Regions from separate parts of the Homo sapiens genome. Here region 1 is linked to region 2. Evidence: promoter capture Hi-C in 16 types of primary human blood cells and fetal thymus (Javierre and others, 2016). All regions are on one chromosome and are shown on one strand. Each heading gives the region's core, a stretch centred on a gene start or on the middle of the fragment in contact. The rest is flanking DNA. Distances are from core to core; before and after follow the strand shown.

Evidence for each region. The method cuts DNA at HindIII sites, captures the fragments that hold promoters and counts their contacts. A CHiCAGO score of 5 or more calls a contact.
Region 1: a fragment that was not itself captured here is called in contact with the fragment with the promoter of ACAP2 in region 2 in 1 of 17 cell types (neutrophils); the score reaches 5.3 in neutrophils.

What each region holds. Positions count from the first base shown.
Region 1 is chr3:194,590,307-194,594,212 of GRCh38, forward strand. All of the region lies in intron 9 of TMEM44 (transmembrane protein 44), which reads right to left. It overlaps TMEM44-AS1 (TMEM44 antisense RNA 1), which reads left to right. Exons shown (of 3, transcript NR_047575.1): 3 at 1-526. Among named protein-coding and RNA genes, the nearest start is that of TMEM44-AS1, 8.0 kb to the left of the region's middle. The HindIII fragment of the contact is 6,556 bases long and covers 1-3,906 here.
Region 2 is chr3:195,438,774-195,445,016 of GRCh38, forward strand. ACAP2 (ArfGAP with coiled-coil, ankyrin repeat and PH domains 2) reads right to left here and starts at 4,247. Exons shown (of 23, transcript NM_012287.6): 1 at 4,022-4,247. The coding sequence starts at 4,074. RefSeq lists enhancers at 3,162-3,251, 3,791-4,290 and silencers at 3,702-3,751, 3,772-3,991, 4,112-4,611. The HindIII fragment of the contact is 4,201 bases long and covers 2,915-6,243 here.

The DNA of each region.
Region 1 (3,906 bases), core at 4-2,503, 850 kb before region 2:
TTAAAAAGACCACCTGATTCCCAGTGACCCTGCAGTGACTGGGTTTGGGCAGCTCGTCCCCTGCACCTGTTTGGGGCTGTGCCAGCCACTTCCAGTGAGAACATCGCATTAACTTGCGGTCGCAGACCTGGCTGGACCCCTTGAACCAAATTCCTTTCTGACCTTATCAGACCCCAAATAAAAGAGCTCACCAGGCCCCTCAGCCTACGTGACCCACCTGCCCAGTGAAAAAAGTAGGGCCCTGTTCTGTTCTCTGAGGATGGTCAGTGTGCTCTTTGATGAAAACGGTTTCTAAGCTGAGGCCTGAGACCTAGATCATTGTTCTCACAGCGTGTGCTTGACCAGCCACACCAGAAGCACCCAGGCTGCTGGCTAAAAACACTGATGCTGGGGCCCACCCTAGCCCCTGGGTAGGGGGTAGAGACCTAAGGTTTGGCATTTTTACAAGCTCCTAGGGTGATTCTTAGATGCCCTGATGATTGAGAACCACTGCTCGAGCTTCTTAAATGGCTGCTGAAGAATGATTCTTGCCAACCGTGACCAGTTCAGCAGCCTGCAGACAGAAACCTGTCACTTTGATCAGGTGAGCTCTTTAAACTAGTACAGGCCGGGCACGGGGACTCACGCCTGTAATCTCAGCACTTTGGGAGACTGAGGCGGGCAGATCACCTAAGGTCAGGAGTTCAAGACCAGCCTGGCCAACATGGTGAAACCCCGTCTCTACCAAAAATACAAAAATTAGCCAAGTATAGTGGTGGGCGCCCGTAATCCCAGCTACTTGGGAGGCTGACACAAGAGAATCGCTTGAACCTGGGAGGCAGAGGTTGCAGTGAGCTGAGACTGTGTGATTGTACTCCAGCCTAGGCAACAAGAGCGAAACTCCATCTCAAGAAATAAATAAATAGGCTGGGTGTGGTGGCTCACGCCTGTAATCCCAACACTCTGGGAGGCTGAGGCGGGTGGATCACCTGAGGTCAGGAGTTCGAGACCAGCCTGGCCAACATGGTGAAACCCCATCTCTATTAAAAATACAAAAAATTAGCCAGGCATGGTGACAGGCGCCTATAATCCCAGCCACTTGGGAGGCTGAAGCAGGAGAATCGTTTGAACCCCGGAGGCGGAGGTTGCAGTGAGCCGAGATCACGCCACTGTACTCCAGCGTGGGCGACAAGAGTGAAATTCTGTCTCAAAAAATAAATAAATACATAAATAAGTAAGTAAAAATAAAGTGGTACAAATCTTAGAAAACATTTAGAATCTATTTTTTCTGACTCTCCAGAATAATGTGTTTTAAAACTTCATTATTTATTTATTTATTTATTTTGAGACAGAGTCTCACTCCATCACCCAGGCTGGAGGCATGATCTGGGCTCACTGCAACCTCTGCCTCCTGGGTTCAAGTGATTCTCCTGCCTTAGTATCCTGAGTAGCTGGGACCACAGGTACACACCACCACACCTGGCTAATTTTTGTATTTTTAGTAGAGATGGGGATCTCGCCACGTTGGCCAGACTGGTCTCCAACTCCTGACCTCAGGTGATCCGCCCCCCTCAGCCTTCCAAAGTGTTGGGATTACAGGTGTGAGCCAACGTGCCCGGCCTAAAAACTTCATTTTATAATAAAATCATTGGGCCAGGCGTGGTGGCTCACGCCTGTAATCCCAGCACTTTGGGAGGCCGAGGCGGGTGGATCATGAGGTCAGGAGATCGAGACCATCCTGGCTAACAAGGTGAAACCCCGTCTCTACTAAAAATACAAAAAATTAGCCGGGCGCGGTGGCGGGCGCCTGTAGTCCCAGCTACTCGGGAGGCTGAGGCAGGAGAATGGCATGAACCCAGGAGGCGGAGCTTGCAGTGAGCCGAGATCGCACCACTGCAGTCCGCAGTCCGGCCTGGGCGACAGAGCGAGACTCCGTCTCAAAAAAAAAAAAAAAAAAATCATTGCTGGAAACCAGGCATGAAGAGAATCTGAGCAAAAGATCCATTTTCATATCAGAAACAATCCTGGGAGATGACAGGCACAGGTAGTTGTCACAAAACATGCCTGTCACTTGGAGGCAAGGGTGGCATGGAGACAGCAGCCAGCTGCCCAGGGTCCCAGAATGACAATGTCTGGAACTGTTTATTGCAACAGCTACTGCAGCCATGCCGGCCACTACTACTGTTGTTCCAAACCATGTTTCTTCACTGGGTTACACGTCTTCTTGGAGTCCCTATTACTTGGGCTTACCTGAATACCCCCAAAGCAGAAAGAACTCTGACCTGAGAGAGCCCTGAAAATCCCATTCATCCTCAGTCTTGCCTCTCATTTTGACTTTTTTTTTTTTGAGATGGAGTTTCACTCTTGTTGCCCAGGCTGGAGTGCAATGGTGCAATCTCGGCTCACTGCAACCTTCATCTCCCAGGTTCAAGCGATTCACTTGCCTCAGCCCCTGAGTAGCTGGGATTACAGGCATGTGACACCATGCCCGGCTAATTTTGTATCTTTAGTAGAGACAGGGTTTCACCATGTTGGCCAGGCTGGTCTTGAACTCCTGACCTCAGGTGATCGCCCACCTCGGCCTCCCAAAGTGCTAGGATTACAGGTGTGAGCCACCGCGCCTGGCCTGACATTCTTTTTTTACTGAAGGAATTTGTCATGGGTCTAGCCATCTAACAAGGTCTAACAAAAACAGGAACTGAAATCAAGCCATAGGAAGTCCCTCCTGGAAGAGAAAGAGCATGATCGTCCATACCTGCTCCGAGTTTAGGGCCTCCCAATACTTCTGCTGCAGAATAAAAAGAGAGACAGAAAAAGTGTTGGACAGATTTTGCCACCATCCCACAGCAGAGCAGAGCTCAGGACCAGCTCCTGTCTGCTCAGTGAGCCAGGAGACAGGCCCTTAGATGGTTGGGGGCAAAGGAACAGGTGACTTCAGCAAGCAGGAAGGCAGCAGCTACTAGCAGTTACAATTTAGTTAAATGATCAATGAGATAGTTATGATAATTATGAAGGGCTGCACGTCCTGGGAAAAATTACAATCTATCAAGATTTAAAAATTACTATTAGTAGAAATTATTATTATTATTAGGAGGAGTAGCAGTAATAATAATAAATCTCCCATTTATTAACCACATGGCTGAGATGATTCAACTCAAACCCATAAAACTGAGATGCCAATAAAATTCCTGCCTTGCAAATATGGGGTATTTGCTACCAGCCAAGATTCATTTGTAGTCAGTGTTTACTGCATGGTTGGTTCCACTCCAAACCTCAAATATGTCTGACTCAAGTTCTTGCAGGGCAGGCATCACGTCTGCCCTTGTTACTCCAGCACCTCCTGCAGCGCCTGGGAAACATATGTTTCTGACATGAGCTAAGAATCTATGAATATCTGTTACATTGATCTGGGAATGTCTATTAAATTAAATAGCAGGCAGTCCGAGCAGTCCACAGGATTTAGGGTTATTATCACATTAAAACAAAAGCATGTTCAACTCCTTAACATTTTTCATTAAAAAAAATCAATTAATTAATTTTTTTGAGAGAGGGGCTTGCTCTGTCGCCCAGGCTGTAGTGCAGTGGCATGGTCATAGCCCACTGCTGCCTCCATCTCCTGGGCTCAACTGATCTTCCTGCCTCAGACTCCTGAGTAGCTGGGACTACAGGTGTGTACCACCATGCCTGGCTGACATTTATTTTATTTTTTTAGTGGAGATGAGGTCTATGGTGCCCAGGCTGGTCTTGAACTCCTGAGCTCAAGCAATCCTCCCACCCTGGCCACCCAAAATGCTGGGATTACAGGCATGAGCCACAGCACCTGGCCTAATTTTCTATCTATCTATCTATCTATCTATCTATCTATCTATCTATCTATCTATATCTATCTATCTGTGTATGATGGAGTTTCACTCTTGTCACAGGCTG
Region 2 (6,243 bases), core at 2,997-5,496:
ATCTAGCCGGGCATGGTGGCTTATGCCTGTAATCCCAGCACTTTGGGAGGCTGAGGCGGGCGGATCACCTGAGGTCAGGAGTTCGAGACCAGCCTGGCTAACATGGTGAAACTCCGTTTCTACTAAAAATACAAAAAATTAGCCAGGCGTGGAGGTGCACGCCTATAATCCCAGTTACTCGGGAGGCTGAGGCAGGAGAACTGCTTGAACCCAAGAGCCGGAGGGTGCAGTGAGCCGACATCGTGCCATTGCACTCCAGCTTGGGCAACAAGAGCAGAACTCTATCTCAAAAAAAAAAAGAATCATATCTGAAATAGAATCTAAAAATGAAAAACCTGCAGGATGGTGTATGATAGACATTGTTAAAGGATAAAAATAAATTATCAGATAAAAACTAAAGCATACCAAGGCTAAGGCCTTTTTTTTTTTTTTTTTAAGAGAGAGAGAGAGAGTCTAGCTCTGTTGCCCAGGCTGGAGTGCAGAGGTGTGAACATAACTCACTGCAGCCTTGACCTCCTGCCTCAGCTTCCCATGTAGCTGGAATCACAGATGCACGCCACCATGCCCAACTAATTTTTTTATTTTTGTAGAGACGGTGTCTCACTTTGTTGCCCAGGCTGGTCTCAAACTCCTGGCCTCAAGCGATCCTCTTGTCTCAGCCTTCCAAACTGCTGGGATTACAGGCATGAACCACTGCACCTGGCCACAATATTTTTATACTTGAACACTGCTGACAAAAATCTTTCATAATTCAGAAAGATGTTTATTTATTCAATTTATTTATTCTACTTTTTATTTCAAATAGATATTCACTTCCTAAGTAAAACAGAATACATTTTGGGTTTTTTTGTTTTTTTTGTTTTTTTTGTTTTTGAGACAGTCTCGCTCTGTTGCCCAGGCTGGAGTACAGTGGCACAACCTCAGCTCACTACAGCCTCTGCCTCCCAGGTTCAAGCAGTTCTCATGCCTCAGTCTCCCAAGTAGCTGGGATTACAGGTGCACACTACCACACCCGGCTAATTTTTGTATTTTTAGTAGAGATGGGGTTTTACCATGTTGGCCAGGCTGGTGTCAAACTCCTGACCTTAAGTGATCCGCCGTCCTCCACCTCCCAAAGTGCTGGGATTACAGATGTGAGCCACAGTGTTCAGCCCAAGAGTATGTTTAAGTAAAAGAAAAGCAGTACTTTTACGGAGGTTTTGTAAAATTTTAAAGACCTACTACATGCAACTACATACAATTAAGGGCCCAAACAAATTCCAACTTCAACATATTTTGGCCAAAATGCAAAATTTCCACTCAAAAAAAAGTATACTTAGGCACTTTACATTCCTGTAGATTTTTAGATGAACAAGGTTTTTAGATTTTAGATGAACAAGATTTTGACCTTTAAGCTGATTTTAAACTGGTATTTAAAAAACCAAAAAGGGAACCCAAAATTATACAACGAAATGTGCCCTCCAATCCAAAACAAAAAAAAAATGTTCACTGGGATGTAAAAGTAACCATTGACTATTCAAATTACAAAAGACAATGTTGCAAATGCAACATCCTTCTCCCTATTTCAACCAGTCCCCTTGTATTCTCCTCATTGATTTAACAGGAAAATAGATGTTTAAAGCTTGAACAGTGGTGAAATTTTCATCAGCAAGATGTGCCTTTTGCATTAATTCTACAGCACCAAGACAGTTATGTGCACACACTAGACTTAAATGCCACAAGATTCATTTATGAATAAAGACACGTATTAATTTAAAGACAGCCCAATAGATCAGGACACAAGTGCAGCTGCCTTACTACCAAAAAACAAGCCCAGGCCTCACAAGCTTTTTATTTTGATACAAGTTTCACTATCACTCAACATACACAATACTCTCAAAAGTAAAGCTCTTCTTATACATACAACATGTGAATGAAGACTTCTCAAATATTCTTTTCAAATGCTATACAGATCCTCATAGTAATAGGATTATGGAAAAACTATAAAAAATTAAGAATATGAATAATGAAACTTCTATTTCTCGGCAGTCTTCCCTCTATTGCAAATCTAATTTGTCCCCAAAATGTATATAAGATGTTGAAGTTATTGAAATTTTGGCATCTCTTCCCAATTTGCAGCTAACAATAATTGGAATATGGGAAACAACTCCTGAAAACCTGTAATATTTTAATTAACATAGAATTTATGTTACAATCAAGTTTAACAAAAGTTCACTATAATATTCCCTACAACTTAATCAGTATGTTGCCCTCTTATTTTATATTCAATGATTTCTTTATTTCAAAAACAAAGACATCACATGGTTTGTGACCAACCCCAGTAGCTAGAAGTATTTCCAAATCACTTCTCTCAACTTAAAAAAAAAAAAAAATTAATGTGAAACAAAGGGAGTTCAAAGCTACATCTTCTAAGGGAAAAATGCTGTGATTATTTCACTTAAAAATAAATAGCTGAGTCATAGTAACAAAATTTCACAAAAAGCTGAACTTTCTAAGGTGCACTTTAAAAATTACTCCACTTGCCATGCTGTCCTGGAAACCAACCTGCACGCCTGTCCTAGGAAATCTATTTGTGTCTCTTGAGTCCTTCAATAATGCAGAACATAAAAGTTTCAAAAATGAATCGCAACAACAGCTATCAAAGGAAGTGGGTTTTTTTAAATAATAGCCCTAGGCTCCAATAAAATTAATACCCAAAAATCATCAAAGGGCAAACGCAAAAAGCGTTCTTAAATTTTCTCTAAGTAGCAGTTCCTTAGTTTTACAATTCTTTTCTTTTTCGCTGAAAGGAGAATAAGAAATCCAATTAACAGTGTTAAGGATGAGAACAGTTAGTTCCCAGGCAGAGGATGCAATTTACAATCCAGGCTTGGCCCAGACATTAGCGGGCACACACACGCCAGTGCTCAGAGGAAGCTTCAAGAAATGTCACTATCTAACGGAAGTGTTAAGGCCTTATATTTGTAAGGACTATGACCAGCCCTGTAAATAAATACACTGTAAAACGCAACCTAGAAAAACTCCATTGTCCAAAACAACTCAAGACTTTCCTACTATCCTCAAAACAGAAAGAACCTGTGTCCTGGACGGCCTCAGGACGACCGCCTCTCACATAGAAAGAAGGGCAACCCATGTGAATCGGAGTGCCCCCATGTCAACTCTGTGACAGATCCACTGGGAGCATCCGACTGTGATCCGGGCCCTCCTGGGCAGAGGCTGCTGGAAGAGGAACACACAGGCAATCTTCACGGCCCTCCTACTTCCGTTCTCAAAACAGAAATGCACTTTTCTGCTAGTCCTCCGCCCTCAGCCCGGTACCTCTCGACAGCTGTGCCCCCTTCAACGAGCTTAAGTGGAAAGAAAAGCAGGTAGTCACCAACTAGGGTCCACGGAATGCGGTTGATCACAGCGCTTCCCCCCGCGATTCCCGCACGCATCCACCGCGGGCGCCCTCCGGAGAGTCGCTCTGGCCGGGGGCACCGCGAAGCAGAAGTCGGCGTCCCAGTTCGCCCCCTACTCTCTCCTCCCCGGGGAAGGGGGGCAGAAAAGCGCAAAGAGGAACTAAATGAACTGCAAGAGGATGCCCTGAAAGCTCCCTCAAAGAGGGGGTGGGGAGGGGGTGGAAACCAAGAAGGGGCGGAAGGAAGGGGGAAGGAAGAGCAGCCAGAGGAGGAAGGGGGCGAGAGCGAGCGCCCGCGAAGGGGACGGGACTTCGGGAGCGCGGCTGCACCCCATTTCCCCCAGCGGGAGAGGGTGCGCCGGCCTTCGGGGCGCTCCGCCCCGGCAGAGGGCAAGGAAAGAAATGAGAGGCGACGTCCCCGTCCCCGCCACTTCGTCGCCCCTCGGGAGGGCTCGGTGGGGACTGCAGTGCCCTCGCAGGGTGGGAAACGGCGGCAACAGCCGCTCGCCCCGTCGGAAGGAGCGGACGGCGGGGCCTCCTCCGGGTGCGCGGGCCCGGCTTTCACGCCCCCAGCGCCGGGAAGGCAGCTCCGCGGTGACGCCGGGCGGCCGTGCCGGTTACCTGAAGCGGGGCGAGTCCTTCAGACACTCCTCGAAATCCACAGTCATCTTCATCCTGCCTCCGCCTCGCAGGCGGCGCTGGCAAAGCCGAGGGGGCCGCGGGAGCGGCCGCGCTGGGACGCAGACGGCTACGGCGGGCGCACGGCCGCGACTAGCGTTGCGCGGAGCTGCGAAGGGCGCCTCGCCCGCTGGTCATAGCAGCCGCGAAGACGGCGACGACTAGTCAGGCCCCAGTCCCGCCCCTCTTCCTCCCGCCCCAAGTAGAGCGCTGGCCGCAGGGAAACGGCCGGGGAGTGACAGCAGCGGCCAGCCAGCCACGAACCTGGCGGCCAAGGGGCGGGGCATCCGGCAGCACCGCCTGCGGGCGCCCGGGCAACGGGTCTGAGCGACGGCAACCCGAGCCAATGAGCAGCGCGACCGTGGGCACCTCCTTGCCACAACCGCCCCCGAGGGCCAACCGGGATGCGCGGGCGTCGCTAGGCGGGACGCACCGGTTGCTGGGAGGCCGGCAGCTGAGGTTCCTTGGGAAGGAAGTCACGTGGCTGCGGCCGCGCTTCCCTCCGAGCCCCCGCCTCTTCTCCTGCTCCCCGAGCCCCGCCCTGCTGAGCTGCCAGCCCAGAGGAGCAGTCTCCTGCAGGTCTGAGGAAGGAAATTTGCTTTTCAAAGCAGATTGGCAGAAATCTGAAGAGGTTAGAGGCAGAAATTATAAAAGGAAGAGATAGGCTAAGCCACCTATTCCTTTCAGTTTAGAGAAACTGAGGCCAGAAGAGGAGCGAGGATAACTTTAGTGATAAAATCCATCTTTCATGTATTTGTTCCATAGCTTCATAATCTGGAAATTGCTCCCATGTACATCTTCTCATATAGCCAGAGACCACTTCCTGAAGGAGCTGCCGTTTGGGTTGGACATAGAAAGATTTAGGCAGGTATGGGAGGTAGGGTGCTTCGTGTGGAGGAACTCCTCTCAAAACTGCCGAAAGCATTCCCCCTCACTGACACTTTGCTCCTGGTGGTTTTCACTGTTCTGCCATGGTGGGGTTCTGAAGACCAGGCTCATCGTACTCACCTTGCAACACCTGCCCCTCTAATCCACACTTTTTCTAGAAGCACTTTAAGATACTTATCATCTGATCCTCACGGCAGGTATTTACCATACTCCTTCATTTTAAGATGCCATTGATTGTAAAAAGTACAAAGATGTCTTATATGTAATGAGTAATTTTTAAGCCAACCTAAAAAACACGGGCGTATCTATAAAAATGAATATACAGGGTGTTCTAACAGCATAGTGGCTCTGAGTGAGAATCTGGAGGCAAACTTCCTGGATTTAGGTCCCAGCTTTCTCACTTTAAAATGAACATAACACACAGATCTGATGAAGTTGTCCGGTTAACACAGTGCCACATATCGATCATTCAGTAAATGTTGGCTATTTTAATTGTACCATTTGCCTCTTCAGTACTATAATCAAAGGGCTTAAGTCTAAGTTCTCTCACTTTCACTGTCTGAAGTTTTTGTTTGTCTCAAAAACAATCAAACAATTTCGTTCCGTTCCCCAGGCTGGTCTCAAACTCATGGCCTCAAGTGATCCTTCTGTCTCAGCCTCCCAAAATGCTGAGATTACAGGTGTGAGCCACACACCCAGCCTTCTAAAGTCTTAATATAACTTTCTGACCGTCTGGCTAAGTATAGCGTGATGACATACTGTTTTTCGTAACCCATCAAGAGATATCTTGATCTCTTTAGCATCTTTAGAAATTAACAGTATAGACAGGGCATGGTGGCTCACACCTGTAATCCCAGCACTTTGGGAGGCCGAGGTGAGCAGATTCCTTGCTCCAGGAGTTCCAGACCAGCCTGGGCAACATGGTGAAATCCTGTCTCTACAACTCTACAAAAATATACAAAAAATTAGCCAGGCACATGCCTATAGTCCCAGTTACTCATGAGGCTGAGGTGGAAGGGTCACTTAAGCCTAGGAAGTCAAGACTGCAGTGAGCCATGATTGTGCCACTGCACTCCAGCCTGGGTAGACAGAGCAAAACACTGTATCAAAAGAAAAAAAAAGGAAAAAGGAAAATTAACAGTATAATTCTGAGGCATTTCAGAGAATATAGAAGCATTATATTCATTTATTCTTTGCTTATAAACTTGATTTCTTTTTTAATTGTGTATTCCTGGAAACCACACAGCTTTTCTTGATAGCTAAAAACAGACTATTGA